Linked DNA regions of Homo sapiens: region 2 is linked to region 1. The links are contacts of gene promoters, found by promoter capture Hi-C in human tissues and cell types (Jung and others, 2019). All regions are on one chromosome and are shown on one strand. Each heading gives the region's core, a stretch centred on a gene start or on the middle of the fragment in contact. The rest is flanking DNA. Distances are from core to core; before and after follow the strand shown.

Region 1 (4,568 bases), core at 571-3,070:
TGTGTTTGTGTGTGTGTTTGTGTGTCTGTGTTTGTGTGTTTGGGTGTGTGTTTGTGCGTGTGTTTTTGTGTGTGTTTGTGTTTGTGCGTGTGTTTTGTGTGTGTCTGTGTGTTTGTGTGTGTGTCTGTGTGTGTTTGTGAGTGTGTGTGTGTGAGAGAGAGAGTGTGTATGTGTGTGTGTGTGAGTGGGGTCTCCTGTGGCAGGAAGGTCAGCCAAGCTACTATAATCATTCCAGGGAACATCACTCCCTACCAGCAGAGCTGAAATCGCAGCTCTCCTGCCTGGCTACTTCCCCTGGACAATAACAACCCCAGACTTCTTGCTACAGAGGAAGTGTGGCTGCCCACAGTTGGTGTGGCAACTGCACAGCCTCCACAGTTGGATCTGCTGTCCTTGACCCATCCAGGGCCTGTGCTAGGCCCACCCAAGGGCTCCTCCCAGTCTCCCCCTCCCCCATCCTAGGAACTAACGTTAATCCCTTTTGATTCCCAAAGCCTTAAAGTGTCAGAACCAAACCACCTAGCCCCATTGTACAGATGAGAACACCAAGGCCCAGAGAGCACAGGCACTTGGCTAAAGTCACACAGATGACAGAATGGTGGAAGTCCAGTTCTCTTGCAGGTTGGCTTCCTGACACCCCAGTGCACTCCCTTCCTCTAGAGCTCCCCCCCAGAGCATCCCCTGAAGAGCTCCTCTGTTTCCCAAACCTGCCTGGGGAGGGGAGGTGGGGAGCTGGAGGTTTCCTGTCTGGGCTGAGAGTGAAAGGGCTGAAAGAAGGAACGAGGAAGGAGCAGCCAGCAGCCACAAAAGGCTTCAAAGGGCTTGGGCCTCCGCCAAACTGGCTGTGCACAGCCCAGTGGAGCCTGCGCCCACCCTGCGGCCAAGGCCATTCATTCTCTCTCTCCCTCACAGAAGCATTAGGAGACTAGGGCCTGGGAGGAAGCTTCCCTGCAACTCCAGGTCCTGCCACCCAAGGCGCGAGCTCTGGGAATGTGTCCCGCCTCCTGCTACAGCCCCAGCAGGCAGGAGGCAAAGCAGGCCAACCCCAACCTGCCTGCAGCCTGGAGCAGGATTATGAATCAGATGTGGCTCTCCAGGTTGGAAGGAATGTGGATCATAGATAGAGACACTAAGGCCCAAGGAAGGGCCAGAGAGTGGCAAAGACAGCGCAGGATCCACGTGGGTGATGATTTTTTTCCTGTAGGTCCCTCCTGACGGCAGAAGCCACCTACAGCTTGAAGTCTTCTTTGGCGAAGGGAAAAGACAGGAGAGAGAGAGGGAAAGGCAAGCTCCCAGGTTCCCTGTTGGCGCAGGTGGCATTTTGGGGGGAAACAGGGTTATGCACTGTGGGAGATTCGATTCGGAGCCAGGGGCTGAGCCTAAGGCTGGGATCTGTGTGGCTGAGATCTGTGCTCACTTCGAGGTTTCCGTGCTTGCCTGGACGGCTCTTGCGCCCTGGGATCTGTAAACCCCAAGGGTGGTGCGCCCTGGGGTCGCCATGCCCCTCAGATTCTTTACAGGGCACCTCCCATCCGGCACCTGGAGCTCCTGAGTGCGCGCGCCCCGGGAGAGCTGTGCTCCCCGCGAAATCCGTGCGCTCCAGCTCAGGGCTCCCGGGATCGGTGCCCGTTAGTGGGCACAGGACGCCGGGTGTCCGAAGGGCTGCCTGGAGATGCAACTGACCTTGGCGGGCATCAGAATGACGAGTGGCAGCAGCAGGAGCGGGGTGACGAACAAGATCACGAAGGACTTGAACTTGGAGACATAGCTCAGCGCCGAGGCCATCGCGCGGGAGGGAGACTGGCGGGCGAGACGAGTGAGGGGCAGCTAGAGGCGCCGCGGGCTTAAGAAGGGGCCACAGTCCCCGGGGATTGGGGAGGGGGCGGTGACAACTCCGCCCCGCACGGGGGCGCCTCCCCGCGGCCCTGGGGCGGGGCCACCCCTCGGGGTCTGTGGGACGCGCCTGCCCCCAATTCTGCCACCCGGCGGCGGTGGGAGGCGTCTTTGGACTCCAACGCTTCGGGCCAGCCCTCTAGGGGCAGCCTGGGCCCTAGCATCTCGCGCTGTCCAAGCCTCTCCTGCGCTGCCGAGGCAGAGGTGCGTCCCGGGGCTGCCAAGCGGGGCGTGTTTTGGTCACTGGTGCTGCCCGCTTTGGCGTAAGGCGCCCTCCCGCGTCCGCATCTGCTCTTTCCTGGGCTCTGAAGGGTCCCGGATGAAACTCTCTGCAGGCCTCTGGGTCTCTCAGGTCTATCTCCCCGATCTCCCTCTCCTTTCCATCTCCTTACTTCCGCCCCTCCGGTGTCTCTCCGAGAGGTGTCCCCCCACGCCCCGCGCCCTCCGCACCGCGGGCCTCGCTTCCCGGTCCCCCCTGGCTTCCTCGCCACGTCCGCCCCACTCTAGGTGCAGGACCCCTTTTCCCCGCTCGCACTCTCCGGCCCGGAGCTCCTGGGCGATCGCACAGGGAAGCGAGGCCACTGTCCTCCTCTGTCCCAGGGGCTGTCGCGCTCCAGTGGACGCTGCACCCCGCAGACGCCCGGCGGGCAGATGCGGACACGCGTCTTGGAGGGGCCCCACCGAGCCTCAGCAGCCGCAGCTGCCCGCCCGACCCAGGTCAGAGGGAAACGGAGCTCTAGAGAGGAAGGGACACAACTAAGGCGACACTGAGACAGTCGCCCATGTATTCATTCAGCCCGCCAGGCAACAGACAGGTGCCGAGCACCTCTTCTCCGCGAGGCCCTGTTTTGGGCACTGGAGACACACGGATGCAAAGACATCCCCACCTCTGTGATTTTCTTCTTTCCTCTCCTCTGCCTGCCTCTCATTCTGCAGCTTCCTTTTGGGGAGTCTCATCCATGCTGGTGGCCTAACCACAGCCGGCTCCTTAGTGATTACCATCCTCTGCCTTCAACCCAGCCATGATGCCAGAGTCCCAGATGTCCAGCCTTCCGCAGACTGGACGTGTCTCGGCCCGAAAATTCAACACATCCTGAATCAAGCTCATGAGTTCCTTCCTGTGACCTGCACCCAAGGACATGCATTCTCCCAAGCCCCTCCTGCAATTGCCTCCCTCCTGTCCTTTTCCCTTTGTAACTCTCATGCATATAGCCCTGGGTTTTCCCGCCTTTCCTGTGTCCCCAGGGCACTTAGCACAATTTGTACCTCTTATATTTATTGGTGTAATTTTTACTTTTTACTTTTTTATTTTTTAAGTGTTATTTCATTTTTAATTGACAAATCATTGTCTATATTTACGGGGTACCATGTGATTTTTCAATGTGTGTATAATTGTGGTGTGTTCAAATCAGGCTAATGAGCATATTTATCACTCGAATATTTATCATTTCTCTTGTTTTTGTTTTTTGTTTGTTTGTTTGAGACAGAGTTGTGCTCCTGTCACCCAGGCTGGAGTGCAGTGGCACGATCTCGGCTCACTGCAACCTCTGCCACCTAGGTTCAAGCAAATCTCCTGCTTCAGCCTCCCAAGTAGCTGGGATTACAGGTGTGCACCACCACGCCCGGCTAATTTTTTGCATTTTTAGTAGAAATGGGGTTTCACCATGTTAGCCAGGCTGGTCTCGAACTCCTGACCTCAGGTGATCCGCCCACCTCGGTCTCCCAAAGTGCTGGGATTACAGGCGTGAGCCACCGCGTCTGGCCCAAATATTTGTCATTTCTTTGTGGTGAGAACATTTAAAATATCTTGTAGCTATTTTAAAATATATGACACATTATTATGATGTAATTTCTATTTACTGTCTGTTTTATTCATCACCACCTGTCCAGCTAGTGCCTTTCTCAGTGCCTAATCCAGGATGTGCACTCAAACCTTTTTCTCCGGGATGCATGAATGAGAGCAAGTAAACAACTTCAGTTCTTTTTTCTTTTCTTTTTTTTTAATTTTACTTTAAGTTCTGGGATACATGTGCAGAATGTGCAGGTTTGTTACATAGGTATACATGTGCCATGGTGGTTTGCTGCAGCTATCAACCGGACATTTAGGTTTTAAGACCCACATGCATTAGGTATTTGTCCTAATGCTCTCCCTCCCCTTGCCCTCCAACCCCCTGACAGGCCCCCGTGTGTGATGTTCCCCTCCCTGTGTCAATGCGTTCTCACTGTTCAACTCCCACTTATGACTGAGAACATGTGGTGTTTGGTTTTCTGTTCCTGTGTTAGTTTGCTGAGAATGATGGCTTCCAGCTTCATCCATGTCCCTGCAAAGGACATGACCTCATTATTTTTAATGGCTGCATAGTATTCCATGGTATGTATGTGCCACATTTTCTTTATCCAGTCTATCATTGATGGACATTTGGGTTGGTTTTAAGTCTTTGCTATTGTAAATAGTGTGCATGTGTCTTTATAGCAGCATGATTTATAATCCTTTGGGTATATACCCAGTAATAAAATTGCTGGGTCAAATGATATTTCTGGTTCTAGATCCTTGAGGAATCGCCACAGTGTCTTCCACAATGGTTGAACTAATTTACACTCCCACCAACAATGTAAAAGTACAACTTCTGTTCTTAATACAACTGCTTCCAAAGGGATTCACCAGAGCATGGACT
Region 2 (4,194 bases), core at 174-2,673, 260 kb after region 1:
ATAGAAATATGAAAAAAAAACCTAGGAGATGCCAACTTCCCACCCCTGAGGGTTGAAGGTCCCAGCAATTTCGAGAAAATATCCCCACAAAAAGGACCCAGTGGCTGGGCGCGGTGGCTCACGCCTGTAATCCCAGCACTTTGGGAGGCCGAGGTGGGCGGATCACCTGAGGTCGGGAGTTCAAACCAGCCTGACCAACATGGAGAAACCCCATCTCTACTAAAAATACAAAAAAAAAAAATTAGCCAGGCATGGTGGTGCATGCCTGTAATCCCAGCTACTCGGGAGGCTGAGGCAGGAGAATCATTTGAACCTGGGAGGTGGAAGTTGCAGTGAGCTGAGATGCCACCATTGCACTCTAGCCTGGGCAACAAGAGCATAACTCTGTCTCAAAAAAAAAAAAAAAAAAAAAACCCAGGTATGAGGATAGCAAGAAATTCACTCCACATGCAAACTCACTTGCACAAATCCTGGACTGCCAGGAAGAACGCCACTCACAGGCTGGTACATTGTTTGAAGTCAGTAGTTTTTTAGCCACAGTCTACAGCTGCCCAGGTGCTCCAGCCTAGAGACCGTACCTCTGCCTCACCTCTGGCCTTACTCAGGACTCTTTTGTCTACGTGTAACAGAAAGTGAATTCAAAGTGGCTTTTAAAAATAGGCATTTTTAGGCTGGTGCAGTGGCTTACACCTGTAATCCCAGCTGTCTGGGAGGCCAAGGTGGGTGGATCACCTGAGGTCAGGTGTTCGAGACCAACCTGGCCAACATGGCGAAACCCTGTCTTTACTAAAAATACAAAATTAGCCGGGCAGGGTAGCACATGCCTATAATCCCAGCTACTCAGGAGGCTGAGGCAGGGGAATCACCTGAACCAGGGAGGCGGAGGTTGCAGTGAGCCAAGGTTGCACCACTGCACTCCAGCCTGGGCAACAAGAGTGAAACTCCATCTCAAAAAAATAAAAAATACCAAAATAAAATAAAATAGGCATTCTTGTCTCACCTAAGTTGGAGGGAAACAGAAAAAAAGAACAATAAAAATAAAAGGAAATTATTGGTTCCTATAACATAAAAGGTCAGGGTTAGTCTGACCTCAGGCATGGCTGCATCAGGGGGTTCAAAGAATATCATCAGGACGAAGGCTCACTCTCTTGCTCCCTCTCCGTGACCTCAATTTGCTTTCCTGTCTGTTGGCTTTATTCTCTGACAGGCTTTCTCCAAGAGGGTCACTGGAGTCAACAGGCCTGTAGTCTACCAGCTTGGCAGCCACCATGGAAACACAAAGATTTCATTCTATTTCCATCAAAGCCCCAGAAAAAGCCTCGTTAGCTCTGATTAGCCCATCTTGGACCATATGTCCATCTTTGAACCAATCACTGTCCAAGAAGATGTGATACTCTCATTGACCAGTGTTCAATGGGGACCTACTCTCCTAGCAGTAGACTAGCAGAAAAATAGTAGGACACCCTGAGATTCACCGGAAATATCATATGTGAGTAAAAGCAACAACAGCCAAAGAGAACAGGAATCTCTGGCTGACTGAGCAGGTTTTCAGGCTTTGTTCTTCCAAAGATAATAAGAAGTGCTAACCCATAAAACTTAACAAGCCTCTCTAAGGAATCCGGAGTTGTTATGAGTTATTATATGTAAAAAGCACTTAGAAAAATGTCTGGCCCAAAGTAAGTACTGTAGAGCTGTTAGCGAACATCACGGAAGAAGGATCCTGGAGAATGGAAAAGAACATATTCTAGTAGTCAGGGTGGAGGCACAGAATTGTTTAAATATTAAAAGGAGTGTAACCTAATTTTGTAACAAACTGGTGAAGCAGGATATATGAGTTAAACTACTTTTTGCTTCTTTGATTCATAATTTGAGAATGACAAAACTGTTTTAAAATAAATCTTTTCCGTCACCAACGCAAGGGGATTTGATGTAAAATAAAATATCTGGCCAGGTGCGGTGGCTCATGCCTGTAATCCCAGCACTTTGGGAGGCTGAGGCGGAAGGATCCCTTGAGTCCAGGAGTTGGAGACCAGCCTGGGTAACCATAGGTTGACCCCATCTCTACAAAAATAAGAAAATTAGCTGAGCGTGGTGATGCCTGCCTATGGTTTCAGCTACTTGGGAGGCTAAGCCAGGAAGATCACTTGAGGCCAGGAGATTGAGGCTGCAGTGAGCTATGATCACATCACCACACTCCAGCCTAGGTGACAGAGTGAGACCCTGTCTCAAAAAAAAAAAAAAAAGGAGAAGAAGAACAAAATATCCAATACTGGTTATAAGATGATGAACTAATAGATACTGCAGTCTACCCTTCTACACCAAATTCTAACCACACAAACAACAGAAGCATATTATTAATAAATTAATAATTATGCTCAAAAACCAGAAATGCTTGCTGGACTGGGGAGAGAGAACATGCTGAAAGACAGAAATCATACTGAGGTAGGAGGCAGGTGGGACTCGTCTCCAGACCAGATTGAAACTGACTGAAGGCCGGGCATGGTGGCTCACGCCTGTAATCCCAGCACTTTGGGAGGCCGAGGTGGGCAGATCACCTGAGGTCAGGAGTTCGAGACCAGCCTGGCCAATATGGTGAAACCCTGTGTCTACTAAAAATACAAAAATGAGACAGGCGTGGTGGTTCATGCCTGTAATCCGAGCTACTCAGGAGGCTGAGCGAGGAGAATCACTTGAATCCAAGAGGCGGAGGTTGCAGTGGGCCAAGACCGCACCACTACACTCCAGTCGGAGCGACGGAGAGAGTCCATCTCAAAAAAAAAAAAAAAAAGACAAAACAAAACTGACCGAAACCAGTAGAGGGGCTGAAAGAACCTCTCACTGCCCATCACCGTAAGACACTCCTATCAGCACCATGACAATGTACCATTGCCACAGCAACACCCAGAAGTTACTGCCCATTTCCTAGCTATTCCTGAATAACGTGCCCCTTTAATTAGCATGTCACTAAAAGTGGGCATAAATATGGCTGCACACCACCCTGCACTGTCCTCTCGGATTGCCTCCGCTGTAGTCCTGCTCCCCGGGAGCGGTCACAGAGCTGTGACACAGCCGCCTCCTCAGTAAAGTTGTTTTCTTCCAGCACTGGCTTGCTCTTGAATTCTTTCCCGAGCAAAGCCAAGATCCTGCCCTTCATCAATACTAGGTTAGATGGAAAGGGGAACTGTAGCCTACAGTACCTGCAGGAATACATAGAAGACTTCTCCCTCAGGAGGAAGCAAGAGCATGCCCTGAGGCGTGGTAACCACAGGAAGCACTCCACAGGGAGTATGGAGCCGTCACACCCAGCACACACGCCTCCCATACACCTCACAAGCAGCCCAACCCACCCACTCCCAACTTTCAGGGAAAACAAATACCTATCGGCCGGGCGCGGTGGCTCACGCCTGTAATCCCAGCACTTTGTGGGGCCAAGGAGGGCAGATCACGAGGTCAGGGATCGAGACCATCCTGGCTAACATGGTGAAACCTCGTCTCTACTAAAAAATACAAAAAATTAGCCAGGCGTGGTGGCAGGCACCTGTAGTCCCAGCTACTCAGGAGGCTGAGGCAGGAGAATGGCGTGAACCTAGGAGGCGGAGCTTGCAGTGAGCTGAATGGCGTCACTGCACTCCATCATGGGCGACAGAGCGAGACTCCATCTCAAAAAAAAAAGAAAGAAAATAAATACCTATCAACCCATTGCCTAGGTATTATGCCCAGCAATGCATTTGCTCTTTTTCCTAATGCTCTCCCCGCAACCTCCGCCCTCTCCTGACAGGCCCCAATGTGTGTTGTTCCCGTCCCTGTGTCCACATGTTCTCACTATTGAGCTTCCACTTACAAGTGACAACATGCGATGTTTGGTTTTCTCTTCCTGAGTTAGTTTGCTGAGGATAATGGTTTCCAGCTTCATCTGTGTCCCTGCAAAGGACATGATCTTGTTCCTTTTTATGGCTGCATAGTATTCCGTGGTGTATATACCACAGTTTCTTTATCCAGTCTATCATTGATGGGCATTTGGGTTGACTCCATGTCTTTGCTATTGTGAACAGTGCTGCAATGAACATATGTGTGTATGTATCTTTATAGCAGAATGATTTATATTCCTTTGGGAATATACTCAGTAATGGGATTGGTGGGTCAAATGGTATTTCTGGTTCTAAACCTTTGAGGAATCACCACACTGTCTTCCAC

What was found. The method cuts DNA at HindIII sites, captures the fragments that hold promoters and counts their contacts. A contact is called where the count stands out against the background at its distance.
Region 2: a contact is called between a fragment that was not itself captured here and the fragment with the promoter of SLC13A5 in region 1, in 2 of the 25 tissues and cell types used here (mesendoderm cells and thymus).

What each region holds. Positions count from the first base shown.
Region 1 is chr17:6,711,549-6,716,116 of GRCh38, forward strand. SLC13A5 (solute carrier family 13 member 5) reads right to left here and starts at 1,821. Exons shown (of 12, transcript NM_177550.5): 1 at 1,684-1,821. The coding sequence starts at 1,785. The HindIII fragment of the contact is 16,548 bases long and covers 1-4,568 here.
Region 2 is chr17:6,975,701-6,979,894 of GRCh38, forward strand. No RefSeq gene overlaps it. Among named protein-coding and RNA genes, the nearest start is that of ALOX12, 18 kb to the right of the region's middle. The HindIII fragment of the contact is 6,661 bases long and covers 1-4,194 here.